Linked DNA regions of Homo sapiens: region 1 is linked to region 2. Evidence: promoter capture Hi-C in human tissues and cell types (Jung and others, 2019). All regions are on one chromosome and are shown on one strand. The core of a region is centred on a gene start or on the middle of the fragment in contact, and the rest is flanking DNA. Distances in the headings are between cores, read along the strand shown. Region 1 overlaps IMMP1L (inner mitochondrial membrane peptidase subunit 1). Region 2 holds the start of DCDC1 (doublecortin domain containing 1).

Region 1 (6,385 bases), core at 423-2,922, 130 kb before region 2:
CACTGTCCAGTACAATAGTCATTAAACACGTATGGTTATAGAGTACTTAAAATGTGACTGATATGACAGAGGAACTGAATTTTAATCTTATTTAATTTTAGTTATTTTAAGTTATTTATTTAAACAGCTGCATGTGGCTAGTTTGTACTATATTAAATCACACAGCTTTAGATCAAGCTTTGGCAACCTTTTTCTATAAAAGACCAAATAGTAAATATTTTAGGCCTTGTAGTCCATATGGTCTCTGTTACAACTTTTCAACTCGCTGTGAGAGCACAAAAGCAGTCACAGATAACATGTATATGAATGAGCATGACTTTGTCCCAGTAAAACTTTATTGGCTAAAACAGAGTCTGCTGAATTTGACTCATGGGCCCTAGTTTGGCAACCTCTGCTCTAGGTTGAAAAAAAAAAGTGTCTACAGCTTTATGTATTTTTATTTCATTTGCCCTGTGTTCCGAGTCCTTTCAACACCCTCTCTTTGGGGAGTGTGTGTGTGTGTGTTTGTGTGTGTGTGTGTGTGCATATGTGGAACAGATTTTTGGAGGGGAGAGAGGAGTGTCTTTTCCTGAAAGTTTAGGAAGATTAACTCCTTTGGATTGTTCCTCTTCAACTTTTTCTCCACCTTTTCTATTTTTTCTGAATGGGAGAAGGTGGTGGCAGACAGGCATATATTTTATGTTTAAACTCTGTTCTTTTAATTCTATATCTCTTGTTTTACAGAGACATAGAATTTTTTTTCCTCCCTGAATTACCTCTGATTTCTCCAGGGTTGCTTATTCAGACTAATTATTTTCATTATGGACCTTCTTTCTCATGCTCGTGTTTTCCTTAAATGTTGGCTCTTTATTCATGTTGATAAGTGAAGGACCAGTGGAATAATATAGTAACTGGAGTGGGTTTTCTCTTTCTTTGTTTTCCCATCAAATCTTTAGCCTAAATGGAAAAAAAAAGACTGACCAATTTTCTTGTGGGTTGGTAGGACTTAATTTATTGGTGTACTTTGCTTTAATGTGCATAATCAAGGAGCAAGTACACAGACCAGTCGTTCTCTAATAGCCAGATGAGGAGGCCCCTAACCTAGCTCTCCAACCTCCATACTTGGAGACCAAATTCTTCTCAGGCAGATTACACTTTATTTATTTATTTATTTATTTATTTATTTATTTATTTATTTAAGAAGTTAGCCTCCAGAACTGCTGATTTTAGCTCAGAACCCCTTTGGAGTCACAGGAAGAAGCGTCTCATCTTCCTGAAGCATTCTCATGTTTGTGCTTGGCTAGGGGTGGGCATACATTTTCTGGGACCAGATGGTAAATATTTTAGGTTTTGCGGGTAATATGACCTCTTAACTCTTCCATGGGAAAGTAGCCAGAAATAACATTAACAAATGAGTATGGCTGTGTTTTAATAACACTTTGTGGACACTGAAATTTGAATTTCATGTAGTTTTCACATGTTATAAAAAATATGCTGCTGCTTTAGTCTTTCAGCCCTTTAAAAAATGCAAAAGCATGTGATGGGCTGGGAGATTTACCCTGTGAACTATAATTTGCTAACCATATCTGGACTGTCATTCGCTCCATCCAAACCTATCACTATGATTTTATATGCCTGGTCTTCCAGAAATTCTTCAAAATCTCTAGTGTGCCTTTCACTCCTTTTCTCAGCATTTATTTCTATTTATTTTTTAAAACGTACTGTCGTTTCAGTGTAGTGTTTTTTGTTTTGTTTTGTTTTGTTTTGTTTTTTGATACGGAGTCTCACTCTGTCGCCCAGGCTGGAGTGCAATGACGTGATCTCAGCTCACTGCAAGCTCCGCGTCCCGGGTTCACGCCATTTTCCTGCCTCAGCCTCTTGAGTAGCTGGGACTACAGGTGCCCGCCACCACGCCCAGCTAATTTTTTTGTATTTTTAGTAGAGACCGGGTTTCACCATTTTAGCCAGGATGGTCTTGATCTCCTGACCTCGTGATCCGTGCACCTTGGCCTTCCAAAGTGCTGGGATTACAGTGTAAGCCACCTCGCCCGGCCCTCCGTGTAGTTTTTGAAGAGAGTAGCAGTAAATTTATCTGCAGTTTTGAACCAGAATCCCATTTAGGCATGATATTTGAATCAAAAGACACATGGTAAAACTGAAATGTAAAGTATCTTCTTTAGTATCTTCTTCAGTATCTCCACTCCTCTCTCCATGGATGTATTGGTGATTAATTATATTAAGTAATGTTTTTGTTGAATGCCTATTGTAGTCCCTGTAATGTTGTGAATGCTTTATATATTATTTAATCCTCACACATTTTATAGATGAGTGTGTTCAGAAGTTAATGGAGTCACATAAAGGATAAGTAACTTGTTCTATCTAGGTCAGAAAGCTCGTAAGTGGAAGATCTAGGATTCACAATAGAGCTAGCCTGTCTGACTACAGAATTCATACTCTTATCCACTATTTTCCACTTCAGTCCAAATACAGGCTTAGTTTCCTCCTCAGGGTAGCTTTTTATGTAGCCAGTTTATGGATATTAGCATAAAACATGAAGCATATTTGCTCTGCTAAAATAGGTATATATTCAGAGTGATTAATATGGTGAGAAAAAGTGATGGGAAAGCAATTGAGGTAGTAACTGGAATATAGGTAGCTGGGAGGTGAAAGATTTTGAGTTTCATAAGACTTGTTTTAATCCTGTCAAAAAAAAATTAGACCTCTTTGTTTCTCCAGGGCATAGAAATTTCAGTTTCAACCCAGATTAAAGAACTTTATAACAGTGTTGTCCAGTGGTGAAACAGAATCCTTTGTAATTTAAAAATATTTCCTTCTTAAAACCTTTAGAATTTTAATTTTATAGTTCTGCTTATTATATTTTTTATTTCCCAAAGTGAAAGGTTCAAAGAATAACATTAAAGGTCATTTGGTATTACAATTTTTCCATTAGTCAAAATTAAAGATTTGAAAATAATTTTATAGTCCATTTGGTATTCTAAGGTTGGATTTTTTAAGAATATAAAGCAAATTATGTTTTTTCTATTAACATTTCCTAAATCAACTCACATGAAAATTAATAGATTATCATCATACATGACGATCGTTTTTCTCTCACTGAGCATTGGAATATGTTCACTTTACTACTTATCAGTAGCCCAGTTTTGATTTTCTAACTGAAGTATTTGTGTCTGCCCTCTGAACTGGCTCAAGGTTTTGAGCCCTTTAAAAAAATTTGTGTATGTGTGATAAAAATATACGTAACATAAAATTCACTACTTTCATCATTTTTAAGTATAAGTGAAGTCACATTAAGAGTACTTACAATGTTGTGTAATCATTGCCACTATTTCTAAAACTTTTTCATCATTCAAGAAGAAATATTGTACCCCGCCGGGTGCAGTGGCTCACGCCTGTAATCCCAACACTTTGGCAGGCGGATCACGAGGTCAAGAGATCGAGACCATACTGGCTAACATGCTGAAACCCCGTCTCTACTAAAAATAGAAAAATTAGCTGGGCGTGGTAGCGCGTGCCTCTAGTCCCAGCTACTTGGGAGGCTGAGGCAGGAGAATTGCTTGAACCCAGGAGGCGGAGGTTGCGGTGAGCGGAGATCGCACCACTGCACTCCAGTCTGGCGACAGAGCGAGACTCCCATCTCAAAAAAAAAAAAAAAAAAAGAAAAGAAATATTGTACCCAAGAAGCAGTAACTTGTTATTCTCTCTTGTTTCAACCACTAATAACCTGTATTCTACTCTCAGTGAATTTGCCAACTTATTATAAGCACCTCATATAAGTGGAATCATACTATATTCTTGTTAATATTTGCATAATATTTTTCACTTAGCATAATGTTTTTCAAAGTTCATGTATTTTGTATCATATATTAAAACTTCATTTTTTTATGGCTGAATAATCTATTGCAGATGCTCTTTGACTTATGATGGAGTTATGTCCTGATAAACCCAATTTAAGTTGAAAATACCATAAGTTGAAAATGTATTTAATACCCTGATAAACCCATTATAAGGTTGAAAATCATAAGTGAAACCATTGCTAAGTCAGGGACCATCTGTGTGTGTATATATATATAATATGTAATACATATATGTAACATGTGCAATCTTATATAAGATTATAGTATATGATATAAGATTATCATATATAATAGATGATATATATGATATACGTAATAGATGATATATCATTGTATATAATATATAAGATTGTATTATATATGATATAAGATCATATATATCAGATATATATAAGATTATATAATATACTCTTAGATATATAAAATTATAGATTATATAATGTATAATATATGTTATATATAGGATTATCTATTATAATATATGATTATCCTATATCAGATTACATATGTAAATTATAACATATTAACATCATTTAGCATTAGGATGTACCCTAAAATTTAAAGTATAATAATAATAAAATTTTAAAAAGTTATAACATATATATAAGATAACATATTTATAATATACACACACACACACACACACATATATCACAGTTTGTTTATCCATTCATCTGTTGATAGACTCTTGGGTTGTTTCTACCTTTGGCTATTGTAAATAGTGCTACAGTGAACATTGGCATAGAAGTATCTGTTTGAATCTCTGTTTTCATTTCCTTTGGGTATATACCATACAATGGAATTGCTGGATTATATGAAAATTCTATGATTAACTTTTTAAGGTATCACCAAACTGTTTTCCACATTGGCTGTACCATTTTGCATTCCCACCAGGAGTGCGGAAGGGTTACAATTTCACCACATCCTTAGCAACATTTGTTATTTTCTGTTTTTTTGATAATAGTCATCCTAATGCATATGATGTGATATCTTATTGTGGTTTTGATATGCATTTCCCTAATGACTAGGGATGTTTAACATCTTTTCATGTGCTTATTGGCCATTTGTATACCTTGTCTGGAGAGATGTCTTTTGAAAACCTTTGCCGGTTTTGAATTGAGTAATGGCTTTGTTTTTTTTTTTTTTGCGGGTTTTTGAGTTATAGGAGTTCTTTATATATTCTGGACCGTGACCCTTAATTAGATGTATGATATGCAAATACTTTCTCCTTGTGATAGTATTTTTTGTTGCTCAAAAGTTTTTAATTTGAGAAAGTCTAGTTTATATATTTTTATTTCTTTTGTGACCTTTGTTTTTGTTGCCATATTCAATGAATCATGGCCAATCAAGAGTTGTGTAGTTTTAGCTCTTCCATTTAGGTTTTTGATCTATTTTGAGTTAATTTTATATGGTGTAAGACAAAAGTCCAACTTCATTCTTTTTTATGTTGATATCTAGTTTTCTCAATACCATGTGTTGAAAAGACTGCCTTTTCCCCATTGAATGGTCTTGGCACCCTTGTCAAAAATCATTTGACCATTTATGTCAATGCTATTTCTGTGCTCTTTATTCTATTCCATTGGTCTATAGATCTGTCATTATGCCAGTACCACGTTTTTGCTTACTATAACTTTGTACTAAATTTTGACTCAGGGCTTAAAATAATAATATCAACATTTGAAATCAGCGTGTAAGTCCTTTCGCCATGAGTGTAAGTTTCCCGAGGCCTTCCCAGCCCTGCAGAACTGTGAGTCAACTAAACCTCTTTTCTTTATAAATTATCCAGTCTCAGGCAGTTCTTTGTGCATGCCTGAGGCTAGCATGAGAATGGACTAATACAGTAAATTGGTACTGAGGGAGAGGGGCACTGCTATAAGGATACCTGAAAATGTGGAATTGACTTTGGAACAGGGTAACAGGCAGAGGTTGGAACAGTTTGGAGGGCTCAGAAGAAGACAGGAAAATGTAGGAAAGTTTGGAACTTCCTAGAGACTTGGAAGGCTCAGAAGACACGAAGATGTGGGAAAGTTTGGAACTTCTTGGAGACTTGTTGAATGGCTTTGACCAAAATGCTGATAGTGATATGGACAATGAAGTCCAGGCTGAGGTGGTCTCAGATGGAGATGAGCAACTTACTAGGAACTGGAGCAAAGGTAACTCTGCTATGCTTTAGCAAAGAGACTGGTGGCATTTTGCCACTGCCCTGGAGATCCGTGGAACTTTGAACTTGAAAGAAATGATTTAGGGTATCTGGTGGAAGAAATTTCTAAGCAGTGAAGTATTCAAGAGGAAACAGAGCATAAAAGTTTGGAAAATTTGGGCTGGTCGCGGTGGCTCACGCCTGTAATCCCAGCACTTTGGGAGGCCAAGGTGGGCGGATCACGAGGTCAGGAGATTGAGACCATCCTGGCTAACACAGTGAAACCTGTTTCTACTAAAAATACAAAAAATTAGCTGGGCGTGGTGGCGGGCACCTGTAGTCCCAGCTACTTGGGAGGCTTAGGCAGGAGAATGGCGTAAGTAAATCCGGG
Region 2 (6,502 bases), core at 1-2,500:
CAATTAAATCAAATTAATACCTGGATTCCTGCCACTGGTATCCTATTTTCTGGAAACCTAAATTTGTGGTTTCATATAAAAATTGATTTTTTTCCCCTCATGATTTAAAATCTGAAAGAAAAGACTTACCATTAATATGAGTTTTTGATATTTTTGTTTTAGGTCTGATATATTTGCAGATGGGTCTGCTCCCAGGATGCTGTACCAATCCTTTTTTGGCATCTGCTCAACCGCCATCATCCATGGAACCAGAAGTGGGCCTTCTCAGATTAGCTGAATAGAAATATTAATGACAATTCATCACAGTTTGCCATGTATCTAAGAAAAAATTAAGTACTGCCCTTGTAAATTCTTTAGTATTTAGTCGAGTAAATCATGATTATAATGCAAACCTGAGGAAGCACAGATTTTCATTTAAAATGCCCCAAGAATTCCAGGTATAAGTGTACCGACAAGTATGGAAAACGTGTTAGGTATTTCACGATATATATTTATACTTTAATTAATGAACAGCATTAAAAAAAAGAATTTTATAATGAACCAGGTGGTGTATGAACCTCTAAGAAGGTATTTCTGCTAGTCTTATGATAAAACTGGCACACAAGTAAGCACCCACTAAACACGCTGGAGGAGCTTAATGAATATTTACAAAATGAACGAATAAAAAAAAAGCAAAACAGAACATCAAAGAATTAAAATAAATTTGGGGGCATTCCTTCTGAAAGTTTCTCGTTTGCTTTTCCTCCAGATTGTCTGGAGAGCATGATATGGGAAATAACGTCAGCACCAGCTGGTAGAGAACAAGAGTCCCCTGTTATTGGAGAGGCGCTGAGACCTCGCAAAGACAGAGTGAAACTCTCTACGCGAGGATGCCCCAGTCTTCCACGCTCCAGAAGAGAGACCCTACCAGGAGCCCCAGAAATCAGGCAACCTCTTCCCACAGCTATATACACTTAACGAAACAGCCGGGGCCTCCTCAAGCTCGGGACTTGGGAATCTTCTCCATTCACAGTCGGCTTTACCCACCCAGCCATTGGCGGGCACCCTCTCCGCGCTTTATACGACATCAGACCTACCTAACTTCACATAGGCGCTGCTACCCACTCCTCGCCTGCTGTCGGCCAGAACTCCGGACCGGCTTCTTCTTCCGCCGGAAGTCACTGTTCCGACGTGTTCGCGTTTCTGGCCGAGCTGATGTGGCCGTGGCACAGCTCAGAAGCGACGCTCCGCCCACCCCGACGCGGTCTCTATGGTAACCGGTCACCGCTTCTATGGAGTGGCGTTTACTACCAGTAAGTTCCCAAACTGTGAAGAAAGGCGCCTTTGGCTTCGCTCTAAGTCTCTCTTTTCCGGGCCCCGCGACTGTCGCTTCTCTCCTCCTCCTCAGCGAGCACCCCCTCGCCATCCCAGGCTTTCCCCGCCTTTTTCAAAGCTTCCTCCGTTTACCGTACCCTGAGCTACTCTCAATCTTTTCGGTTGGTGCTTGAACTCTGGGGTGAGAGAGGGGTGCGGGGGCAAGGATGTGAGAAGGATGAGGAGACCTGATGCCACTCTCGTCCCTACAGTTCCTTTACAATGTTCTAATTCGAAAATTAAAAGAACTAAAACCTATGCCAGGTAGGGCTAGATGTGCGGGGGATGGGGTCGGTTTAATTTTTTCTGCAGAAGATATTCGACGTAATTATTAATATTTCTTTTAGACCTTAGCAACCAACTTACAACATAAAAACGTTCCAAAATTCTTTCACATTTGCTATTTCACTTCGCTTTCATTTCAACCCAGTGAGACAAGTAAGGCAGGTGCCATTATTCCCACTTTATAGATGAGGAAAGAAATCAAGGATCAAGGCCAAACAGCTAGTTGGGTAGGGGCAGAACAAGGACTCAGCAAGTCTACACATTCCCAGGGCAGCTATGCTATCTTTCAAGCTTACAGAAAAAAGCAGAATGAACTGTTCTTCTTCGAAGCAGTTAGGGGGCACTGCATATGGGCACTGTTGGGGTTTGTTATTGTTGCTGGTGGTGGTGGTGGTGGTGGTGGTGGTGTTTTTCTCACCTTTCTTTCTTCTCCCTTTCTTGATTCCTGTGTTTCCTTTTATTACTTCTTTGTGCTGCTTACTTTACATTAACACCTCTTCCTAGCATTGTACCTGGAGATGAAAACTACATCTTATTTTTGGCCAGCATGACATAAATTTCACTTGGAGATGTTAAAATGGTTTTGTTGTTACTGCTTTGATTTTGCTTTCCTTCTTTTTTAAACTTCTACCAATCTGAGTTTGAGAAGCAGTCAAGATAAACTTAAGCAGAATAAATAAAATAATCTAATATGATCAGTTATTTAATGATGTTATGAACTATAAAGAATAACTGAATGAAACAAGCAAGTTTAAAAATCTAAAGATGAAAGCATAGATTAGGTTCTCCACAGGGTTTTGTCATGTTTAAAGGCAGATACAAAGAGCATCTGGTTTTAGTCCTGGCTGCATCATACTTTCTTGTGTGGCCTCATGAAAATACCTAAAGCAATGGAATTAAGTAGTGTGGTGAATGCTTTTCTAAACAGTACTGTCAGAATGATGCCACCTTGAACATCTCTAGCCCTCAAACTCCCTTCTGTCCACAGCTTGGTTCTTCCTTGTGTAGGTAGATATGCTCCGGTACTCCAGGTTTTTTGTTTTTTACAGCAAAAGCATTTTATTTTGATTTACTATTTATTAGGTTATTGTGTTACCTTATTTATTTATTGGGGTTTGGAAAGTAAGAAATAGTTTTTTTCCCCAGCAATACCAAATATTTTGTCATTTCATCTCTACATACTTTAGTTTGCATCCCTAAAATGTACCAACTTTTTCTTTTATCTCCATAATGTCATTATTGGACTGTCACATAATATCTAGACCTTACTTACATTTCCACGGTTAATTGAAAATGTCTTTTTCTGGTTGGTTTGCTTGACTCAGAATCAGACAAAATGTACACTTTCCATTTAGCTGTTCTGTCTCTTAAATATCTTTTAAATTATAGCAGTCCCATTTCTTCACTAGAACCTTGTTTTTTTCTTTACTTGCCATTGGCTTACTGAATGAGAACAGTTGTCTTACACTCTGCTTATACCAAAATAAACTTCTTAAAACAATTTTTACATAAATTTCTGATCATTAAGCTTCCTTCATTTTTCATTTTATAGAGCAGTACTTTCCAATAGAAATATAATGTAAGCCGTAAGTGCAAGCTACAAAATTAATTAATCTAAAAATTATTAAGGCGATACTTTACATTCTTTTCTCCTACTAAGTCTTCAAAAGCTGGTATGTATTGTGCCCGAACACACCTCAATTTGAACTAGCACATTTCAAATGCTCAGTAGCCACATGTGACTAGTGGCTACTGTATCCAGCAGGGCAGGTCTAGAGAATAAAGTCCTAACTCCTTAACCTAGCATTCAAGTTACCTCTTCAATATGATCCTTACTTTTCCAACCTCCCCTATTATCTCCATACATTAAACATTTAAACAATTGGATCTTTTCATGGTACTGAAATCAACCCAACAGTCCCATAGACAGGGTTTTGTTTGTTTGTTTAGTTTTGTTTATTGGGGTTTTTTAAATTAATAAACATAGAAATGGACACTTCTTTTCTGAAAGCTTGAAACTTGCATTTGTTTTATCTTTTTGTTTGCTTGTTTGAGACAGAGTCTTGCCCTGGTGTCCAGTCTGGAGTGCAGTGGCATGATCTCAGCTCACTGCAGCCTCTACCTCCCAGGCTCAAGTCATCTGCCCACCTCAGATTCCCAAGTAGTTGGGACCACAGGTGCATGCCACTATGCCTGGCTAATGTTTGTATTTTTTTTTGTAGAGATGGAGTTTCACCATGTTGGCCAGGCTGGTCTGGAACTCTTGAGCTCAAGCAATCTGCCTGCCTCAGCCTCCCAAAGTGCTGAGATTACAGGCATGCGCCACTGCGCCCAGCCACATTTTGTTGATCTTTATCTCAGTTCCTTCCTCAAGAAAGGATGCCCAGACCTCTCAACAAGTATCAAAGAGCTGAAACTCACCAGATTACTGCATCTAGACAGTGATATGCCAGACCCCTCATTCTTCGTTATTGTTTCCTTACCCTTCCTTAGTTCCTGTTTTCTCATACGTAGTTAACATTTCTTCCCTGTTATATAAACCCCTAATTTTAGTCAGTGAGGAAGGTGAATTTGACACTGATGTCCCATCTCCTTGGCTGCAGCATCTGATTAAAGCCTTCTTCTTTGACAATAATCATTGTCTCAGTGATTGACTTTTTGGGTGGTAAGCAGCAAGACATAGATGGAACTCCTGGTGTTTTGGTAACAGCATTTCATCAATAATTGTGTTCAAATGCTTCTCCTTACTTATAACACCCTAATTCTTTTCTTCCTCCTATCAGAGTAATCCCTGCTTTAAGGCCTATCTCTTCCATCAAGCCTTTTATGATGGCCTGGTCCTTAGAACTTACTGCCGCCCCTCAACTTTCATAGCAAGTCCTTTGTATATCACAGTATATTGTTTTCCTTAGAATATATTCTGATTCCCCAGTTGGGTTGCAAGCTTTCTGAGAGCAAGAACACCTCTCCAGAGAAACTAAGAACCAGCTATCTTGCCTCATTCTCTGGAGTTCTAATGATACATAGCTCTAATAGTTTTGTTTCTCAGTATCTTATATTTAAAAGGCAATTTATCCATTTTATGTGAAACTTACATAGTGGAAATATAAACTATGTTAGTATCATGGTTAAAAGCATGAACTCTAGAGTCAGAACATATGTGTTTAGTCCAGGCTTTTCCTCTTACGGCTATGTGAACTTAATTCATCTCTTTGCTTTGGTTTCTTCCTCTGTAATATGGGAGTAATAATAGTATTTCCCTCATAGATTTGTTGTGGGAATTAAATGAGATAGTTGTGCCTGAAAGTAATAAGTATTCAGTAAAGGTTAGCTATTGTTGTTATTATTAATTAATAATATTTGTTGCACATTTGATATATTAGAATGTTGGACATTCATAACAGTATTTTAGGAATTTCCAAAGAGAGCAAATGACAGCAAGAAACAATTGAATTGGAAAAATAAAATCAAACCCAAATATTTGTTGAACTGTACATTTGGTTGGACTTCAGAATAAATTAAAAGGATAGGCAAAACTTTAGTTTGCGTCATCAGCATCTAACATAACCAAGGTAGGCGTATATTAAATATTTGATTCCCAGATGATTGATCAAGTGCTATAGATGTAGCTAGATACATCAGGAGTTTAAGATCCTTTGTCATGATGATAGGAAAAAATGACATTGTTATTAAATCTATCACTTTGGTACACGCCTGCCCGTAAACTAACGTCTACCAGACATTCACAAATTCTTAATTTGATGTCATACTAGTCAATTGTGCTTCTCATTGATGGATAATAATGGAAATCTATATCTATATTATATAGATGTATACATATAGTGTACTTCTGCTAATTATTTCCTATTCAGGATTATATTTACTTGGCTCTTTTGGTAGTTCCATCACCAACTATTCCTTCATTTCCTTGATTTTTATTTCTGAATTTTAGGATTTTTATACCAGTGAACTAAGCTGTATTTAAGTACCATGGGATATGATGGTTATGTTCCAAAATTGAATGATTGTCTCTAGAGCAACTTATAATCTACTGGGAAGATAGAAAAACCACCAAAAACTAGCTAGTTATTTGATTTTTAAAAGTCAATGATATATATACAGCCTTCATTCACCTATTGACTCAATCGACAAATATTTGTTGAGTGTCTCTTATGTACCCCACACTCCGTTAGTTACAAGAGACACAAAACAAAGTTGACTGTAGTCCTGTCAAAAGCTTAGTTTATCTGGGTAAACAGACATTTAAAAAGGAACTGAAATAACTGTAGGAAGTACTATGCCAGAGGAAATACCAGGTGCTGTGACATTAATTAATAACTTGCAGGTATACTAATACGTAGAATAGATTACTTGAATGATTAAAATCCTTGAATCAAGATGAAGCTAATCCAGGAAGATGTATGAAATGTTAAGTTTTAAATAGTGTTTTGAAGGAAGGGAGAGGTGAATGACTAGGATGAAAGAAACTTCCTTTCTTCTTTTTTTTTTTTTTGACAGATTAACATAAAGCTTTAGATAGTATTGAGAATCAGCTCTAATGAATAATCCTAGCTCATCTTTTAGAAATGGTTTTCATTTTTCCCTTTGTTGGTTGTCTTAACTCAGTCTATTATCTGCTTTGCCATTTTGACAATAGTCATCATCGATGAACTTTCGTTGAGTTTGTGCAAGGCAGTACACTAAGCAGGAGAGAAAGAGGAAGAGGTAAATATTTTTTGCGGGCACCGCACTTGTTGCTGTGTTTTTCTTGTTTTTTAGCATTATGTGTCAGTTCTTTCTAACTTTTTTCAGACCTCTTATAGGTCTTTATCTTATCTGAGATTTATGTTCCTGTTTTCCTATC

What was found. The method cuts DNA at HindIII sites, captures the fragments that hold promoters and counts their contacts. A contact is called where the count stands out against the background at its distance.
Region 1: a contact is called between a fragment that was not itself captured here and the fragment with the promoter of DCDC1 in region 2, in 1 of the 25 tissues and cell types used here (IMR-90 fibroblasts).

What each region holds. Positions count from the first base shown.
Region 1 is chr11:31,494,732-31,501,116 of GRCh38, reverse strand. All of the region lies in intron 1 of IMMP1L (inner mitochondrial membrane peptidase subunit 1), which reads left to right. Among named protein-coding and RNA genes, the nearest start is that of IMMP1L, 12 kb to the left of the region's middle. The HindIII fragment of the contact is 5,372 bases long and covers 1-4,358 here.
Region 2 is chr11:31,364,487-31,370,988 of GRCh38, reverse strand. It overlaps DCDC1 (doublecortin domain containing 1), which reads left to right and starts at 1,250. Exons shown (of 39, transcript NM_001387274.1): 1 at 1,250-1,292. It overlaps DNAJC24 (DnaJ heat shock protein family (Hsp40) member C24), which reads right to left and starts at 1,129. Exons shown (of 5, transcript NM_181706.5): 1 at 1,077-1,129; 2 at 130-273. The coding sequence starts at 240. RefSeq lists an enhancer at 837-1,316. The HindIII fragment of the contact is 7,317 bases long and covers 1-1,681 here.